2 separate regions of the Homo sapiens genome follow, and region 2 is linked to region 1. The links are contacts of gene promoters, found by promoter capture Hi-C in blood cells and fetal thymus (Javierre and others, 2016). All regions are on one chromosome and are shown on one strand. The core of a region is centred on a gene start or on the middle of the fragment in contact, and the rest is flanking DNA. Distances in the headings are between cores, read along the strand shown. Region 1 holds the start of DHX15 (DEAH-box helicase 15). Region 2 overlaps SEPSECS (Sep (O-phosphoserine) tRNA:Sec (selenocysteine) tRNA synthase).

Region 1 (6,999 bases), core at 2,780-5,279:
GTACAATGGTCAATAGTGCGGCTCTAGAGTTGGACTGGGTTCAAATAATCCAAATCCCCACTTGTCCACTGAGAGTTCTGTAAACTAGTTCTCTACATGGACAATGCAGAAGTTTTATCAGTTCATGTTCATCTTGTCAGACTGGGAGAACTTATCTTCAGTAACCACACCTTAGACGAATAAAGTGGAACGAGAATATCTATTTATCAGCCGCAGCAGAACATAGCAATTAAGCACACACACTGTCTGGGCTGAATCTCAGAACTGTCATCTTGGCCAAAATACTTGCCTCTTTGAGTAACAGTTTCCTCAGCTGTAAATAAGAGTAATTCATTGGACTAAACTTGAAGTTGCTGTAAGTCTCAAATAGGCTCAAATGTGTAAGGAACAGCATCTGGCTCATAGTGCTTTGTATGTGTTTGCTATTAGCAATTATTTTTTATTAATTTAGGTTGACTTGAGACCCTGCAGCTGGTTAGCTGCATAAGACATTTCCTCCAGGTGAGAAAGTCCATGTCATAGGCCAGAGGGTTGTCTAGTAGAGAAAGAGTAACAGTAAGGGAAAATAGGATATTATCTGGAAATATTTCCAGCCAAGTTTGTGGAGGGCCTGGTGGGTGCCTTTTCTCTACTCCAGGGATAATGATGTCTGAAAATCCAGGGTGGATCATTTAGACCTAGAATTCTACCCTTCTTCCCAAGGAGTGTGCACATCCTGGCAGCCTCTGGCCACTTGTTCCCCTTATTCTAGATTCCAGAGAGGTCACTATCCTTCAATAAGTAGGGCCTTTCTCTTTCCTCCTTTCCTTCTTTTCTTCCTTTCTTCTTTCCTTCCTTTCTTCCTTTCTTTCTTTCCTTCTTTCCTTCCTTTCTGTCTTTCTCTCTTTCTTTCTTTCTGATGGCGTCTTGCTCTGTTGCCCAGGCTGGAGTGCAGTGGCACAATCTTGGCTCACTGCGACCTCAACCTCCCGGGTTCAAGTGATTCTCCTGCCTCAGCCTCCTGAGTAGCTGGGATTACAGGCATGTGCCACTATGCCTGGCTCATTTTTGTATTTTTAGTAGAGACGGGGTTTCACCATGTTGGTCAGCCTGGTCTCGAACTCCTGACCTCATGATCCACCTGCCTCGGCCTCCCAAAGTGCTGGAATTACAGGTGTGAACCACCACGCCTGCCCAGGGCCTTTCTTTAATTGTTCAGGTCACAACACAACTGATGAGGTTATGGTTTTCTTTAGCTGTAACCTAGGCCCAAGGGAAAAGTCTCATCACCTTGATTTCAGTTCCTCTTTCATCATTTATGAGAGGCTGACATCTGAGTGGAGCACTTCTGCAGGTAGAATTCTAACTTTTTTCCCTGATTATTTCTCCAAAATTTTAGAGCACTTTATAGCAGTCATCAAACTGGAAACCTGAAGACTGAGATTTTAATACTTCAAGTGAAATCTGTATTTTATTCTGACTTTGATACCAACTGATTGTGTGAACTTCAATAAGACCTAGGGGTTCAGTTTCCCTCATTTGTAAAATTAAGCAAAAAGAGAAAAATCAGATGGAATCCAGTGATTATACATCATGATCTGAAAAAAGTCAACACAATTGTCCCTCAGTATCCACTAGGGATTGGTTCCAGGAGAAACTGCCGACACTAAAGTCCGTGGAGGTTCAAGTGTCTGATATAAAATAGTACAGTATTTGCATATAACCTATGCACATTCTTCTGTATACTTAATCATCACTAGATCACTTATAATACCTAATACAATGTAATTGCTATGGAAATAGCTGTTATACTGTATTGTTTAAGAAATAAGAGCAAGAAAAAGTCTGTACATGTTCAATACAGATGCAACCATCCATTTTTAAAGAAAAATATATTTTTGATTTGCAGTTGATTGAATCCAGGGATAAGGAACCCACAGATAATAGAAGGCCAACTCATCATTTTAATTTCAGTTTTTTCCTATACATATGTAATTATGATAAAGTGTAACTTATAAATTAGGCACAGTAAGATATTAACAACTAATAATAAAACATTTATAACAACATACAGACAGTCTTGACTTACAATTGTTTGACCAGATTTTTTGACTTCACGATGGGTTTATCGGTATATTAACTGCATGTTCAACTTACAACATTTTCAGTTTACGATGGCTTTGCGATGGCCATCACCCCATCATAAGTCAAGGAGAATCTATACTGTAATAGAAGCTATGTGAATGTGGTCTTTCTCTCAGAATATCTTACTGTACTGTGAAAGCAAAACCAGGGACAAAGTAGGGACTATGGTACATTTAGGATAGAAAGTTGTACTGAATATTTCACAAGTGAAAAATATACTCATTTTTCTTTGTGTTGACTTTCCAATGTGGATTTGGTACAAAAAAATAAAAACCCTCCTTACCAATTGCTGGCTGGGTGCAGTGGCTCACGCCTGTAATCCCAGCACTTTGGGAGGCCGAGGTGGGCAGATCACTTGAGGTCCGGAGTTCAAGACCAGCCTGGCCAGCATGGCGACACCTCGTCTCTACGTCTCTACTAAAAATACCAAAATTAGCCGGGCGCGTAGCCGGGCGTGGTGGCGGGCGCTTATAATCCCAGCTAGGAGGGAGGCTGAGGCAGGAGAATGGCTTAAACCCGGGAGGCGGAGGTTGCAGTGAGCTGAGATTGCACCACTGTCCTCCAGCCTGGGCGACAGAGCAAGACTGTCTCAAAACAAACACACAAACCCCTCATCAGTTGCAATATTTAAGTTGCATTTAATCCTAGCAATTGCAGTCCTGAGATTTGGATAAGAACCAGAGTATGGTCTTCCAGGGCAGCCAAACCAAGCCATTCCATGAACAACAGAGATCACCCTGCTGCAGATGGTCCACAGATCTTTTCTTGTGCATTTCTTCTGGGAACAAATGCAACTGAGGAAGCAGACATATTCTAGGGGGAGAGATCCACAAAAATCCTTAGAGTCATCTTGCCCCACCTCCTTGTTATGGCTTTAGGTACAGCCCTTATGGCTAGGAGATGTAACCTTCCTCAGCCTTTGCGTCTACGTCTACAAAATAACAACTACCTTGCAGGGTGTTATTTAACACTGCGAAAGTGCATTAATAGGCACAGAAAAACAAAAAACAAAAAAGCAAATTGTGCCCTCACTGCGAATTCTCTGTATTCTAGTTAAAAACATCTATAGCTTGGGTGCATGGTGTCCGTGCTGGGCAAGAAAAGGGCAAAATAGATCATGACAAGCCTTAACATTTTCTCACTTCAGTTTCCTCACTGCAATTGATTTTTTTTTTTCTTTCAAGTCGGAGTCTTGTTCTGTCGTCCAGGCTGGAGTGCACTGGTGTGATCTCGTCTCACCGCAACCTCCGCCTCCCAGGTTCAAGCGATTCTCCTGCCTCAGCCTACCGAGTAGCTGGGATTACAGGCGTACGCCACCACGCCCAGCTAATTTTTGTATTTTTAGTAGAGACGGGGTTTCACCGTGTTGGCCAGGCTGGTCTCGAACTCCTGACCTCGTGATCCACCCGCCTCGGTCTCCCAAAGCGTTGGGATTACAGGCGTGAACCATCGCGCGGCCCCTCACTGCAACTGAGGGTAGCGCAGTGGCCGCAAGTTCCAGATCTGGAGTTACTAAATAGCTGGGTTCCAATCCCGGCTCTGCCACTTATTAGCTGTACGATCTTCATTCGTTTCTCAACCTCTCTGGGTCTGAGATTCCCTTAAAGCCGGGGTAATAGAAATGAATAGGATTTCCTAACTAGGACTAGACTTTCTCAATTTCTTGACTCAGAGGGGCAAGGATAGCCTGAAATGGAAAGTGAAGGCCTTCAGGTTCTTCCTAACAGCCGCTCCGAGGAGGGGAAAGCTACAGGAAGAGGGAGGAGACCCAAGAAAGGTCGGACCAATGAGGCAGCGGGCGGGACAGGAGTTCCCGCCTTTGGGCGTCGTGCGCGCGCACCTCGCTCACACGCACACTCGCACGCACGCACGCTGCGGAAGCGCGCGCGCGCGCAGGCCCAGCCCTCGTCGCCGCCGCCATTTTAGCTGTTGGTTCCGGCCGCACCGTGTGGGCTGTAGTAGCGGGAGGGGTGGGGGTCCTCCAGAGTTAAGTGGCTGTCCTCGACTGTGCCCATACAGCAGCCAGCTTTCTTCCTTAATAACTGCCCGTTCGAAGAGTGCGAGGATGTCCAAGCGGCACCGGTTGGACCTAGGGGAGGATTACCCCTCTGGCAAGAAGCGTGCGGGGACCGATGGGTAAGCCAGGCCGGGGGCGCGAGGCGGCAGCTCGGGCTTTGTTGGGGTCCTGGCAGGGAGCGGGCCGGGGCTGGCCTGGCCGAGCGGGTCCTGGAGCCCGAGCCTTTGTTTCTCTCTGGGCTGGGTTCACTAGCGGCGGGTAGGAGAAGCGCGGCGCCCGTTCGGCCCGGCAAGGGCGCGGGGGGTTGCGTGCGACGGGGCCGCTGCCCAGCCCAGTCCGGAGGGTGGAGAGGCCTGCAGTAGCCATGAGGGCGCCTCCTCCCCCAGGCCGAACCGAGCGGGAGTCATTTGCGAGGGCGTCGGGCGGGAGTGAACCGCGGACCTCGTGGCCTCGGTTCCCGAGGAAGGCCTGGAGCCGGAGGAGAGGGTGGGGGAGGGCGCGGTGGGAGTATTCGCTTCCAAGGGCAGCAGGCACTTCCCAGCCAGAGGGGCCGTGGGGAGGGCCTGGGTGGGGGCGCGGCCAGGCACTCCAGACGGGAAAGGCGGAGGGCGGAAAGTGAGAGCAGCGCGTGGATCATAATGTAGGCTGGGATGGGGGTGGCGGGAGTTGAGAGAAGCCAGCAAATAGGGAGTTCTCGGGGGAGGTGGGAGTAGAGGACCTGCCGGGAGAAAGGAAAACGTGGAGTAATATACCTGATGGGCTGGAAGGCTGGTGTTTTGGGGCGACTGAGTTTATAGTTTGGCGGGAGAGAGCGTGCCTTGGTCCATTCAAACACTTCAAAGTAGATACTAGCAAACTTCCGCTCTCTGCCTACGCTCCCGCCATCTCCTGTATTTCCTGCTTTGGTTAAAACTGGTTACTGAACATCGTCCCATGGGGAGGGATTAGAAGGCATTGTTTTTTTTTTTCATCATTTATTTTCTATGCATGTCCCACTTTTCTTCATAAGTAGCTTTTGAAATACAGGGATCATGTTCAAAACGTGTTTTTAGTATTTATGGCGAAACACCGCCCATGTGGAGGTTGAGAGTTGAAATACTTACACAAACTCTTGGTGTTCCAGATTCCTTTCCTTAAAGGTACAGAGGAATTTAGCAGTTAATTTAAGCAATTTCGTGAAAATCATTTCTTGTCCCTTGTGTGTTTTCATTGATGAAGTACAAAGACCTGTTTGGATAATTCAGGCAAAACCCACAAAAGCCCGAGTAGCCAAATACTTTGCATAATTGTATCATTTTATTGTGTACTTGTGATACAGAATCACTGTGTCAAGTCACCTGTATAGCTGTTTTGAATTTTTCAGCTAAAGTTCTTCATTGAAATTGATTTCCAGGGATATGTTTAGTGTCATTGTAGAGTATAAGCCAGGATAGGGTGTACTTTTTGAGGCTTTGCCATATGTTGAATTATTCAATAGAAAGCAAAAGCATGTCACATTTTAATTTTGTGAGTTATTTAGTTTACGATATTAGGCATTGTAAAAAAGACAATGACATTGTAAGACAGACTCTCTTTAGGCTATCACCCTCCCCCACCATTACGCCCCACAAAACGTTAATACCTCTGAGCTGTATGTCACAGACTCAGAGCTGGAAGCAACTTAAAAAAGACTATACGCGGCTCCAATCAAGGAATGAGAAGTGGAGAACAGAGTTAAGGTGGCTTGTGCAAGTTTACAGCAGGATCTGGAACCCTGCCTTTGTCATTTTCACTCAGCAGCACACAGTTCAGTACTGTAGTTAAGAGTCATTACAGCCTATTTTAATGACATTTATAATGCGTTGGTAAAGTAGGGAACACTTAGTTCTTGATTTCTCTAAGGCAAAAATAAATTGCTGTCATCTGGAACTGATGTCTCTCACAGGAGGTCAGATTGGAACAAAATATTCTGGGAGGGAATGAATGAATTCATTTGTATTTGTGCATATGTGCACCATTTAAAATGTTCCCCTTGGGATTAGTGGTCCCACCATATGTATGTGCGATTGTTTACTTTCTCTTGCAAAAACAGATATCCTTAGTAAAAAGGTTGACTTTTGGAGTCTAATGGTAGCTTTATGATTCCCTTGTATATTATTTAGAATTTGCCTATGGATAAAGGAGAGTTCATCTTTGGAATAATGCCCAAGTTATAAGAAATAGTAGAGGGAAGTTTTTATACTCATTTCTATGTCATTTGAGTGCCATTTATCCTTGAACTGGTTTTATTTAACAGTGGACTTAAGGTGTTTATCGGCCTCAGAATTTTTTCATACTCGATAATTTTAAGTCACTTGTTGACTGCCATGCAATCCTGCAGATTTTTTTTTTCCCTGATAAGCAAGTGGTTTTATTGGAGAGCATAAGCTTGTCAGTCTTACAAACTCCACTGCCAGATAGGGTTTCTGCAGTACTGAGAAGGGAAGGTAATTCAGTGGGAGATTTCACTTATATTAATGCTCCCAAACTATATAAGGCTTTATTTACTCCTGGCATATTTTAACTTTGAAATCAGGTGAAGTTATTATAGGTTTCTGTTGCATATTCTGGCCTCATTTCTTCTTTTTGTCAACCCACAGAATCTTCACTATACAATTACCGAAAGTAATAATTTTCCATACTTACTGTTGAAGTATGGAAAAAAGTTTTCGATGTTAGGGGCGTTTTTCATTTTGATGTTGGTTTTTGATATTACCACCTGATAAGAGTTTTTTCTGTTAATTATGGGAAAGTAAAGCTAATGTATTAATACTGTGATAACATTTGTGGAGCATGCACATTTTCACTACAATCCTGTATGGTAGATGAGGTTAAATGAA
Region 2 (6,972 bases), core at 3,856-6,355, 560 kb before region 1:
CCTTATTTTCAAAGAAATTATTTATTAAGGAATATTTTCATTAGAACACACACATATGAAAGTGCCTTTTATTTTATGAAGAAAATACTTCTGTGTATCCCAGAGGTCTATTTTGTTAAAAACATCATCTGATTAGTTTGAAGTAACAAAAAGGATGTCTATATCAATTTGTAGGGTTTGTGAAAATGAATGATAAAATGAGTTTTTAATTCATAAGACTTCAAGCAAGCAAATTGATAACTTGTTTTTGGTCTGAGGCAAACTGGACAAAAAAAAGAAAACTTGTAACAGATGAACATAATGGTATTCCTACTTACAGTTAAAAATATATTAATGACATCTACTAGAAATAGGACATGTATTATGCGTAAATCGGTAATTCAAACTATATATTTGAAGTATATCCTGTCAAAAAGGACTTTACTTGTATAAAAATGCTTTCAAATTCTTTATACTTTAGAAAGAAAACTTTTAATAATTTTACTAAAACATAGGATTTAGTTTTAGTTTCATAGCATGAAGACATTTCTATTAAAGATGAGCTCAGTCACAAGAAGTATTTGGCTTTGTGAAAGAACATCTATTTATTATGCTGTCACTGAAATTTATTACCTTACTTTGCATAAAGTTAGACTCTCAAATTAGATTAATATGAGAGGTGTAAAATGAAAAAGTAAGAGTAGATAAGGGTGGATTTAAAACCAGTAGCTATTTGGAAGATTCCTCAGTATCCAAGTTGTTGGAAAATGTTAGTTATTTTGGTAATGACACATTTTAATGTTCTGTATTTTTTAATACATTAAAGTCTATTTGAGAATGCATTTTTTATTTTATGAGATGTTTAATGTGAGATTTCTTAAGATTCCAGATATGCTAATTATTTTGCAGATACTAGCTTCAGTATGGTAAGCAACCAAAAGTGGAAAAAAAGAGCATACCATCTTGTGAGGGGTCATTATAAATAATCTTCTGGCTTTCTGTTTAGGGAATTTTTAATTTTAAAATGATTTATCATCTACATAAATTTTTGTATTTTTTTTGTATATTGATAACATTAATTTAAAAGCCTTTTTAGGTTTATTCGAAAGAGCTTGCTATGTATTTCCAAGCTGCTGAATTACATGTCAAAATACTGCAATAGAAATTTCAGTGTTTGTCGTTTTTTTCCTTTGGTGTACATTAAGGATAACTATTAAATTTTTAAAAAACTTTCTGCACTATCATTTATAAAACACAGTGTGAGTATGTCTTTCTATTGAATATTTATGTTTATAGATTAGAAGAACTGGCTGTGATTTGTGCTAATTATGACATTCCACATATAGTTAATAATGCTTATGGAGTGCAGTCTTCAAAGTGTATGCATCTCATTCAGCAGGTAAGAGAGTTTAAAATGATATGTATGTCAAGGAAAAATTCATTTTAACATATTATAGGATTATTACTTTTTCTTACAATCTGATATAGTAAAACAGTTATTTATGACCATCTGCTTCAGGTTGTGTTAGGAACTTACATCTGATAATCTCTCAATAAAAGTCATTATTCTTTGATACTGTGGTGATAATTGGACTGATAGCTTTGGTAGGCTAGAATCAACATAGAAATACTTTAGTAGTTTAGCTTTTAACTTTCTGAGACTGTTTCATTACCTGGATTTTCATTTTTCTAATATACTGGATTATACCATTTAAAAAGATATGATTTAGTCTATATTTAAGGAATTATTGTACCTTATTATCTTAGACTAGAAGTGACTTCATTTATAAACATGCTAGTATATAGCTGTGGAATTGGCAGGTTTTTGTATTTTTTTTTAAGCATCAGCTAGATCCTGGTCATTTGTTTTAGGTTCTAATTTTGAAAATATGTCTTTGTTTCCCATGTGACTTATAATAAGAACTATGGCCTACAAGGCTTTGTGTATTCAGGCCTTTGCTGATTTGCTGATTTCATTTTCTACTGCTTTCCTTTTGCCTGCTGTGCTCCAACCACCCTTGCTGCCTTACTTTTTTTCCATTTTGTCACGTGCCTGCACTTCCAGGCCTTTGCTCTTGCTCATCCCACTTGCTGGATTGCTCTTCTAGAGAGTTGCGTAGCTTTCTTTAGGTCAGTGAGACTTCCTCAGAAACTCTGTCAGTGATTGTTATTATTGACAATCAATAAACCGGTTACTGAACAAAGTGAGTGAATAAATGAAATATTGTGTTTATTTATACATGTATGATACAGGCTATATAGTTTGTGTGCATAATGATGTTAATATACATACTCAGTTTTGACATACATGTCAAACCCTATCTAACACCTCCCCCTTCCTTGCTAGCGTTTTCTAGTTTTTTATTTTTTTGAGATAGGGTCTCACTCTGTTGTCCAGGTTGGAGTTCACTGCAGCCTCAACTTCCCACGCTCAAGTGATCCTCCTACCTCAGCCTCCCGGGTAGCTGGGACCACAGGTGTGTGCCACCACACCCAGCCAACTTTTTGTATTTTTTCTAGAAATGGGGTTTTGTCATGCGGCCCAGACTGGTCTCAAACTCCTAGGCTCAAGCCAGCCTCCCACCTCGGCCCCACAAAGTGCTGGGATTGCAGATGTGAGCCACTGCGCCCAGCCCTTGCTAGCATTTTCTATCCTTCTTTTTGCTTTTTTACCATGTTCATTGATTTTAAGATGCTATGTTCTACATTTTGACATCTGAAATTCTGATGTCTTAATAATCAGTGGTGTCTTACAATGTTAATAGGCAGTGTTTTTTTTTTACGTAGTGACATATAAAATAATGATGTTTCTTAAAATTGATGGCTCCTTGCTATTTTTCTCCAGAACACTTATCACCATTTGATATAATGTTTGTTATTGACAGTGATTAGAATTAAGGTTCTGTTGGGGTAGAACTTTGTTTTGTTCACTGCTGTGCCCTCAGTACTTAAGACAATATCTGGTACGTAATGGACAATTAATAACTGGTTACTGAACAGTCAGTGAATAAATAAAGTATTGTATTTATGCATGTATGGTATGGACTACATAGTTTGTGTGCATAATGATGTTAATATACACATACAGTTTTGACATACATGTGATTTGTGTTATGTGGGCATAAGTTATTCACAGATTACCTGTGTCTTGCTCCAATATGGTAAATGCTCTGAAGCACAATAGATACTATCTAGTACATTTTTTGTCTTTTATATTATTTTTAGTATACTAATATCATCTTTTACATAAATGTGGTTTATATGAAATAGTAATCACTGATTTGCTTAACTTCTTTACTCAACTTTGTATCAGTTAGGATGTCATTGGCAGCAAGTAACAGGCACCCAACTCAAGTTGGCTTAAACCAATAAGGAAATGGATTAATTTATGTAGCAAGTCCAGAGGTGGAGTGGGTTGTAGGCATGGTGTGTTGGGATTTCTTAAAACCTTTAGAGAAAGACTGTTTACCATTTCCTTGGTATTTCTTTTTGCTATTCCTTAACTTTTTAAGGCTTCTTCACTTATTGTAGACTAGGTTATATCTAATTTGTATGGTCATAGAGGAAGGGTGTACAATTTTCTACACTGGAAATCTTGAAAAACATTTTATTTCAGTGATTGATTTTTATTCCTCCTTTCCCTTTCCCTCTTGCTCTTCTTCTGTGTAATTTTTAGCAGCTTCTCTCCTTTTAAAAGTCAAATACCATCAGTATTACTAAAAGTTTAGGAAAATGAGGAAGGAGTAGAAGATCACTCATAATGCTATTACCCTAACAAATACCCTTAACAATTTATGTATTTACTTTTTCTCTTTTTATATGCATATTGTTTTTACATAGTTATATTCATTGTGTACATTTAATTTTTTTAGTGTTATATTTCTGTACCCTTCAGATGCTATAAAGTTTTCATAATGATCATTTTAATGATACAACATATTTTTAAATACTAGAAAATTTGGTGGTGCACCTGAAGAGGTTAAAACTAAGAGAGGCTGGGTGTGGTGGCTCCCCTCTGTAATTCCAGCACTTTGGAAGGCTGAAGCTTGTGGATCACTTGAAGCCAGGAGTTTGAGACCTCCCTGGGCAACAAAGCAAGACTCCATCTCTACAAAACTAAAATTTAAAAAAAAATTCTCTGGGTGTGGTGGTGTGTACTTGTAGTCCCAGCTACTCAGGAGGCTGAGGCAGGAGAATGGCATGAACCCAGGAGGCGGAGCTTGCAGTGAGCCAAGATAGCCCCACTGCACTCAGCCTGGGTGACAGAGCGAGACTCCGCCAAAAAAAAAATAAAAGCTCCAGAATACAATAAGAAAGGTGCTCTTGGAGTTGCACATCCCTAATACTCTGCTTTGTCATTACCTCTCTGCATTTGGGAGGTGGTTTTACTAAAATTTTAACCAAAAAATAAAACTATAAGATGGATGAATAAACTTTTAAATGCAGATATTGTTGCAGATAATGTATTACCTTCTAAAGTTGACATTTGTTAAAAAATTTCTTTGATACCTAATATCTGGGTATATTTATGGAGTGCAAATGATATTTTGATACATGTACAGATTGTGGGATGATTAAGTCAGAGTACTTAGGCTATCCATTATGTGGCATTTATTATATCTTTTTGTGTTGGGAACATTTCACATACTCTCTTCTAGGTATTTTGAAATATACAATACATTGTTGTTAACTATAGTCACTGTACTGTGCTATTGAACGTTAGAACTTATTAAAATGGACATTTCTTTAAAACAAAAAAAGCAAATATATAAACATTCTATTTTTCCCAAATTGGCCTTCACCAAAAGAGGTTGTGGCACTATTGATTTAAATCAAATGAATACTTGAGTCTTGTTGAGTGCAGGTTGCTGTTTCATGACATTCTAAAAAATTAAAGTTAGCCTTAATTCATCTCAATAGTCCTTATTGTTAATATATACCATTTACTACACACTCTCCATGTGTCAGGCATCCTACTAGGCTTTTTTTTTTTTTTTTTTTTTTTTGAGACGGAGTCTCGCTCTGTCGCCCAGGCTGGAGTGCAGTAGCGCGATCTTGGCTCACTGCAAGCTCCGCCTCCCAGGTTCACGCCATTCTCCTGCCTCAGCCTCCCGAGTAGCTGGGACTACAGGCGCCCACCACCATGCCTGGCTAATTTTTTGTATTTTTTAGTAGAGACGGGGTTTCACCGTGTTAGCCAGGGTGGTCTCAATCTCCTGACCTCGTGATCCACCCGCCTTGGCCTCCCAAAGTGCTGGGATTACAGATGTGAGCCACCGTGCCTGGCCCTCTACTAGGCTTTTAAAGTTATCAGCTGAATCCTGACAATTTAAGGTGTACTTCTTATTCCCATTCTGCACATGGGGAAATAAAATAAGTGGGATTAAGTGACTTCCCTAAGGTCCTGTAGCTACAAAATAGCCCATCTAGTTCAGTGCGACTCCAAAGTCCCATTTTTCTGTTAAAAAACAAAGTACTAAAATACTAATACTGTAAGTCTTTTCTTGAGAAAATAATATTGCAATAATCAATCAATGAAGAAAAGTATAAATAAATTTTTTTTATTTTTATTGTTTTAACATTATGTTTTTAACTTTTTTGTTTTTAAGATGAGACCCCAGAATGACTTAAGGCTGAGCATATAGAGTATTCTGTATGCACATAACCCCACCTCCAGGGGAAGTTAGTTTTGAGTAACCTATATTTCTGTTTATATTTACTAAAATGACGAATTTAAGAGATTCATGAATTATGGATGTTAGGATAGATTAATGGAGAGGGATATAGTAGAGTCACAAAAATATGCATATAAGACTGATTATTTTGAGTCACAATGGATTGTAAAGTTCCAAAAGTGTGGGAAGCAGCAACTTTGCCTGTTCAGAATTTGAGAGAAGTAGGTATTACTACTGTTTATTCACAAACCCAATTGTCACTTCATTCAACAAATACTTTCTGGGTTCCTGCTTGTGTACCAGGCACCAGGGTAGGAACTGGAGATGCAATAGTGAATCCAACAAAATCTTTAACCCTCATAGAGCATTCTATTTTTTGTGCGAAAGCAGAGAGTAAACCTTGAGTATGACAAGTCTTGGATAAATGCTCTGGTATTTGGGGAGGATGGATATCATTAGATGGAGTGATCTAGGAAGCACTCTTCAAGAAGTACATGTGAGTGGAGCTCTGAATGATGCAGGAGGAAGCTTTGCAGCTCTCTAGAGAGAGAGATTCCAGTCAGAAGCTAACAGCCAAGACTCTGAGGCAGGAGCGTGCTTGGAATATGTGAGAAATAGCAAGGAGGCCAGTATGGCTGAACCATAATGAACAAGGTGAACAGTGGTTGTAGAGCTTTGAGGTGTGTTAAGGGTTTGGGATTTTGTTTTTGGTATGATCATTGGCCATGGAAGGATTTCAAGCAGGAAAGAGTGACATGCTATGTGGGAAATAGACTGTAGGGAGGCAAGAGTGGAAGGCTGTTGCAGCAACCCATATGAGATTTTTTGGTGGCTTTGGCCAGGGTGGTAGTTGTGAAGGTGGTAATAAATGCTTTTATTCAGATGTATTTTGAGAGTGGATTTTAGAGCATATACTGATGACTTAGATGTAGCTGAAAAAGGGGGTCTTGTACCATTTCTGAGATTGGGTCTGGCCTGTTTGTTTTCTTGCCACAGAATGTGCTGCCTTTTAAATGCTTTCTGTGTTTTAGTGATGGAAGGGTTCTAGCAAAGTCTGGTGCATTGATTCCTCTAGTACTTCTGCTTCCAGTTTAGGTTCCTGTTTCTCTCAGGAGGCCTTGGACAGTACTAAAATGTTAATACAAAGGCAACTCTGACTGTCCACTTATCTTTATATGCTGCTACTTCGCATGTTTTCCAGTTTTTTTTATTCTGTTAGTCTTATATGCATCTCTCTATTTTCCTGTGATATGGTGAGATTTTCTCTGATCATGGTTTATTAGGAAATTAGAAAGAAGAGGAAGAGGAAGGTTAAGAT

What was found. Contacts are between HindIII fragments. The CHiCAGO score rates a contact against its expected background, and 5 or more counts as called.
Region 2: a fragment that was not itself captured here is called in contact with the fragment with the promoter of DHX15 in region 1 in 2 of 17 cell types (erythroblasts and total B cells); the score reaches 7.5 in erythroblasts.

The regions. Positions count from the first base shown.
Region 1 is chr4:24,581,584-24,588,582 of GRCh38, reverse strand. DHX15 (DEAH-box helicase 15) reads left to right here and starts at 4,029. Exons shown (of 14, transcript NM_001358.3): 1 at 4,029-4,260. The coding sequence starts at 4,190. RefSeq lists an enhancer at 3,591-4,130 and silencers at 4,311-4,430, 4,441-4,520, 4,721-4,770. The HindIII fragment of the contact is 7,218 bases long and covers 1-6,549 here.
Region 2 is chr4:25,146,366-25,153,337 of GRCh38, reverse strand. SEPSECS (Sep (O-phosphoserine) tRNA:Sec (selenocysteine) tRNA synthase) reads left to right here. Exons shown (of 11, transcript NM_016955.4): 6 at 1,276-1,378. Among named protein-coding and RNA genes, the nearest start is that of SEPSECS, 11 kb to the left of the region's middle. The HindIII fragment of the contact is 2,158 bases long and covers 4,027-6,184 here.